2 separate regions of the Homo sapiens genome follow, and region 1 is linked to region 2. Evidence: promoter capture Hi-C in human tissues and cell types (Jung and others, 2019). All regions are on one chromosome and are shown on one strand. The core of a region is centred on a gene start or on the middle of the fragment in contact, and the rest is flanking DNA. Distances in the headings are between cores, read along the strand shown. Region 1 overlaps RAB11FIP1 (RAB11 family interacting protein 1). Region 2 holds the start of GOT1L1 (glutamic-oxaloacetic transaminase 1 like 1).

Region 1 (3,025 bases), core at 419-2,918, 75 kb before region 2:
TAGGCATGCACCACCATGCCTGACTAATTTTTGTATTTTTTTAGTAGGCACAAGGTTTCACCATGTTGGCCAGGCTGGTCTTGAACTCCTGACCCCAGGTGATCCGCCTGCCTCAGCCTCCCAAAGTGCTGGGATTACAGGCATGAGCCACCGTGCCCAGCCAGGGAATCCGTTTTCAATTTACAGTGAAAACAGGTTGTTGACTGATGAAGTCTTCTGGAAAGGGCCAGATAGCACATATTTGAGCCTTTGCGGGCCACAGACAGCCTTTGTTAACATGTTCTTCCTTGGTTTTTTGGTCTGTTTGTTTTGTTTTATTTTGTTGTATGAACTTTTAAAAATGTAAAAACCATACTTGCCTCACAGGTCGAGGACCTCTGGACTTGACTCTGGGTTTGGATTTTAAGCAGTGCCATCATGGGAGGACTCAGTTCTCCAAATGAGTGCTCACTCCTTTGGGAACACTAGGAGCTCACACAACCAAACACCAGTGCAGAGCTGGTGACGACTCCCAAGCCAGAGGGGGCCCAGGAAGACACAGCTGTGACAGCAAGTGCAGGGAGCAAGGGCTTTCTTTCCAGGGCAGCAGGTCGAGGTCCAGCCCAGACTGTCTGCTCCTGCCAAAGCTGCGCTCAGAAGGACTCAATGAGCAGGTGGATGCAGAGGACACCCAGGGACCCCACTTCACATCACTTCATACTCGAGAAATATGCGGAGTCAGAGCCAGGTGCCACCATGCCCCGTCCTCACCCGTGGCCGTCTAGGCACGCCCTTGGGTACACAGCGGCCTGTCCCAGAGCTGAGTGTTCCACTCCCGAGGAGAGCACACACCCTGCGGAGTCACTGTGCTTTATCAGCATTTATGATCTGGGGCCCCTGCAAGCCCAAGCAGCTTGAACCAGGAGGAGATGTAAGGTAAAGCTTAAATGAAAAGTCACATGCTGTGTAAGTCCCCAGTAAGGAAAAAAAAGTGACTTTTCCTGAAATCTGTAGCCTGAGATTTACATGTTTAAAGAATCAAGATGATTTTGCTGGCAGAGCTCTGAGGCAGGAATAGCTTTACTGCCCTGAGGGTCTAACGGTTTCACTGCCTACCAGGAAGGCCAAGAGACTACCTTCTCCAAGAATCAACACTAGTTCCTCAGTGACATGATAGGAGCCCCAGTTCAGTCAGTGACGCAAACTGCCTGGACACGAGCCAGAAGTCAAAGGAGGGATCCCAGCCCTCCCATCCTGGCTAGGAACAAAAGCAAGATGATGGCGGTACTAACTTAGACACACAACACCAACGTTTCCATAGACAGAGCGGGTTCAACCCCACACAGGCTGCACATTTAGAGGTGAGACACTGGACTGCTTTTCCAAAACCTGCTTCTCCCCTAATCTTTGTTTTTTAAAACTTTGAAGGCATGCATTCACGATGCACCTCCTCTGGACCTCAGTCACTGTAGATGTGACTTCCAAAACAATATTTCATTGAAAAGTCGCAAGTCTGGAAAAGAGCCCTAGCGATTGATTACACAACAATGTGAATGTACTTAATGCCTTTTTTTTTTTTTTTTCCCCATAGAGACGGGATCTCTCTATGTTGCCTGGACTGGTCTCAAACCCAAGCTCAAGTGATCCTCCCACCTTGGCCTCCCAAAATGCTGCGACTACAGGCATGAGCCACCACACCCAGCCTTACATTTTATATCAAGAAAAAAGAGTCACCTTTGTAAATAATGGCAAAGAATACGTCCTCAAGGGATTTTAGATTATATCTCTGTCATATAAGGATCTTATTTATTTATTTTTTAAAAGTCTCAATACATAAGATACTCTGCATGGAGTTTGAAAGAGAGAGGGATGCAGAGGCTGACACCTGTAGGGTGTCATATAATTAATTCCAACACCTAACATTTGGGTCTCTTTATTTTTCCTGGGATTCTTTTTTTTTTTTTTCTTTTTTTGAGACAGATTCTCACTGTGACACCCAGGCTGGAGTGCAGTGACACGATCTCGGCTCACTGCAACCTCTGCCTCCCAGGTTCAAGTGCTTCTCCTGCCTCAGCCTCCCGAGTAGCTGGGATTACAGGCACCTGCCACCACATCCAGCTAATTTTTGTATTTTTAGTAGAGACAGGGTTCCACCATGTTGGCCAGGCTGGTCTTGAACTCCTGACCTCAAGTGATCCACCTGCCTCAGCCTCCCAAAGTGCTGGGATTACAGGCATGAGCCACTGAGCCCGGCCTTCCTGGGGTTCTTGATGATATGTTTTATAATGTCAGCCTCATACAAAATAATAGTTTTACAGCTTTTTACTATTTAATAAGCATTTTTTCCATCATAACATTTTAGCAAAACTTGCTTTTCTAATGGATGCTTAAAATCTCATTATATTTTAACTATTCCTCTATTGCTGGATATTTATGTTGTTTTCAATTTGTACAATTATATATAACATTTTTATCAAAATGCACGAACATAAATCTTTGGCCATATCTCTAAGTACTTCCTTAAGATAAATGCCTAGAATTGAAAATGTGTACACACTTAAGGTACTTCATACGAACCGTCAAACAGCTATTTAATTTGGATTCTGTAATTGAAAGGGAAAAAGGATATAAAGGACTTGAAAATCATTAGAAGAGCCTAGTTTTGCAATATTTAAAAATTATAAAACAGGGCCAGGCATGGTGGCTCACATCTGTAATCCCAGCACTTTGGGAGGCTGAAGTGGGCGGATCATGAGGTCAGGAGTTTGAGACCAACCTGGCCAACATGGTGAAACCTCTTCTCTACTAAAAATACAAAAAATTATCCAGGCATGGTGGCGGGCACCTGTAGTCCCAGCTACTCGGGAGGCTGAGGCAGGAGAATCGCTTGAACTCGGGAGGCGGAGGTTGCAGTGAGCCAAGATCGTGCCACTGCACTCCAGCATGGGCAACAGTGCGAGACCCCATCTCAAAAAAAAAAAAAAATTATAAATAAGCCAGCATCATAAAAAGTGAGTAATGGCCTTGGAGAAGAAGAAGCACAGAG
Region 2 (3,037 bases), core at 530-3,029:
TGAGATGGCACCACTGCACTCTAGCCTGGGTGACAGAGTGAGACTCTGTCTCAAAAAATATATATAATAGGTTAAAAAATAAAACAGTAATGGGAATACTAACACCACCTCCAATTCAGATCATTCCTGTCTTGAAAGAGCTTTCAAATCAGCAGTGTGAGCAGGTGGGAATACCACTGGACTGAGATTCCGATCCTGACTCGATGGCTAAGGACTTGTGGACTCTCTGAGCCTCAGGTATCTCTTTTATCAATACCAGGGGGCCCTCCGAGGTCCCCTTCGGGTTTAAGGTTGTGCAGACCCAGATCGCCACTCTCTGTGTCTAAATGAGCCAGGGGAGGGCCCACCTTCTCACCCTGTTCTCCACAATGGCTTGGCTGTGCTTTCCAAAGAGGAGTGCTAGAGAGGCCTGGATGAATGATTTCAGGCCCATGGTGGGCAAGTACTCATAATTCAGGGAGGGATCCTGTGAAATCTGTAGTCGAGTCTTCTGCACCACGAGAGAAACCCAGGGATGGCCTTCATTTGTCATGCAGACTGTGAGGAAAACCACAGAGGGAGCTCCAGATGCCTGGTTTGGGCCCCCAGGGCTGAGCTCTGCAGACAGCCTGCAAACAAATCTCTCCTGGACTCCATGGGGCTGTGGGAAGGTGCCTGTGAAAATACAACTTTCCCTTTTCTTTTCTCCTTGATGAAAAGAATATGCTGTTAGTGAATGTGTATTATTTTTGTCTTTTTAAAAAAGACAACTGAAACCTATGCCATTTTAAAGGTTAAAAATTATACAAGCCCAGGATTGGTGGCTCAGGCCTGTAATCCCAGCACTTCGGGAGGCTAAGGTGGGTGGATCACTTGAGTTCAGGAGTTCAAGATCAGCCTGGGCAACATGATGAAACCCTGTCTCTACAAAAAAATACAAAACAGCCAGACATGGTGACCAGCGCCTGTAGTCCCAGCTACTCAGGAGGCTGAGGCAAGAGGATGGTTTGAGCCCAGGAGGCAAAGGTGGCAGTGAGCTGAGATCTTGCCACTGCACTTCAGCCTGGGCAACAGAGTGAGGCCCTGTCTCAAGAAAAAAAAAAAAAAAATATATATATATATATATATATATATATATATATATATATATGCAAAATGAGAGTTATAGGTAGATGAAGCTAAATAAAGGTAACCCTGACTTTCACAGTGGTGAGCCCCAGTTGCATAGCAGAAAGCTCAATCTGGAGAACCATTCTTGGTTCAAGAACAGGAAGAGAAAGAGAAAGAGAGAGAGAGGAGGTAAGAATCTGAAGAAGTGTGGGATGGCCATGCAGGCCCCCAAGCATAGAGTTGTGGAAGAGGACATAGCTCTCACCAAATCCCTAGAAGCCCCCAGAGAAGGGCAGAGAGCATGGAATGACCTGGGACCTTATCTGCACTTTTCCCCACTGGGTAATTCTGTTAACAAGAAAAGATCTCTCCACCCACAGAAGCTTGGGCTGCACCCCTCCCCCTGCAGCAGGGAACACTGTCCTCCTAGAGGCAGTTACCATCACTTAAGTCTTATACTTCAGAACTGCTAGGCATCTACCTCTATAGGCTAAGAATATCTTGTTCGGGTAATCATCTTGTTTGTAGGTCTTTAACAAGCTGCCCTCTAGCTTGTGGGCGAGGGGCACATCCATGAACACTGAAAGGGTGGGCATAACTGAAACGAAACTGGAGCCAAGACTATGTGTCTCTGCTCCTGTGTTCCGCTTCTGCCCAGAAGTCTTCCTCCAAGGCTGGGCCGGGCAGTCCTGCCTCTTCCTGGAACCTTGGCAGCCCCAGTGCAGAGGCGCTGGACAACGGGTTGCCAGGGCAACAGAACCTCATGATCTTTGTGGTGGCGATCCACAGGGGCCACAGGAACATTCCAGGGTACTTGAGGAGAATCCCCTCAGACAGCGGGCAGGGCAGGATAACAATCTCCGGAATTCCCAAGCCCGTTTCCCTCACTCAATGCCTTCTCTTCTCTAGCCCCAGGTGGCTCAGTCCAAAGTAACAAGCCCACTCCTTAGATGACAGGGCAAGGATAATGGGAGATTACTTAACAGATACAATGTACATTGTTGGGGTTATGGATACCCTAAAAGCCCTGACTTCACCACTATGCGATGTATGCATCTAACAAAATTACACTTGTACTTCACACATTTATACAAATTAAAAAAAAAAAAAAGAAAGAAAGACATAGGGCAAGGCAGGCAGCCAATAAGCCAGATAGGGCTTCTCCTGCAGAAGCAAAAACCCCAGATCACACACCAATGCAAGTCGAGGCATTGATTTCCATTTTGCAAAGTGCCCCAGATTTCAAAAGGAATAAAAAGCAAACACTGTTTTCTTCCACAGTTGTTTTAATAAAGAATCCTATTATTAGAATATAATTGGCAACTCACTAAGCCAGTCCTATTTCTCTCAGTTATCTAGAGCCAAGACTTCTACATATGTTTGTTAAGTTTCTTTTTCTTTCTTTTTTTGGTTTTTTTTTTTTTTGAGATGGAGTCTCACTTTGTCGATAGTCTCGAACTCCTTGCCTCAGGTGATCTGCCTGCCTTGGCCTCCCAAACTGCTGGGATTACAGGCATGAGCCACCACACCTGGCCATTTGTTAAGTTTCAATGACAGCCAACTAGTAAGTATAGACAGCAGAGGCCAAGGGGAGAAAAGAGCCAGCCTCTATAGAGTCAGTCTGCATATTGCTTGCTTTCTTTTCCTTTTGATGTTTAATGACTCTCTCTTTTTTTTTTTTTTTTTTTTTGAGACAGAGTCTCGCTCTTGCTGCCCACATTGGAGTGCAGTGGTGTGATCTCGGCTCACTGCAACCTCTGCTTCCCAGGTTCAAGAGATTCTCCTGCCTCAGCCTCCCGAGTAGCTGGGATTACAGGCATGCGCCACCACACCCAACTAATTTTGTATTTTTAGTAGAGAGGGGGATTTCTCCATGTTGATCAGGCTGGTCTCAAACTCCAGACCTCAGGTGATCTGCCCACCTGGGCCTCCCAAAGTGCTGGGATTA

The links. The method cuts DNA at HindIII sites, captures the fragments that hold promoters and counts their contacts. A contact is called where the count stands out against the background at its distance.
Region 1: a contact is called between a fragment that was not itself captured here and the fragment with the promoter of GOT1L1 in region 2, in 3 of the 25 tissues and cell types used here (mesendoderm cells, spleen and thymus).

What each region holds. Positions count from the first base shown.
Region 1 is chr8:37,863,386-37,866,410 of GRCh38, forward strand. All of the region lies in intron 5 of RAB11FIP1 (RAB11 family interacting protein 1), which reads right to left. Among named protein-coding and RNA genes, the nearest start is that of BRF2, 15 kb to the left of the region's middle. The HindIII fragment of the contact is 5,114 bases long and covers 1-3,025 here.
Region 2 is chr8:37,938,345-37,941,381 of GRCh38, forward strand. It overlaps GOT1L1 (glutamic-oxaloacetic transaminase 1 like 1), which reads right to left and starts at 1,780. Exons shown (of 9, transcript NM_152413.3): 1 at 1,571-1,780; 2 at 356-537. The coding sequence starts at 1,685. RefSeq lists an enhancer at 1,286-1,802. The HindIII fragment of the contact is 11,209 bases long and covers 1-3,037 here.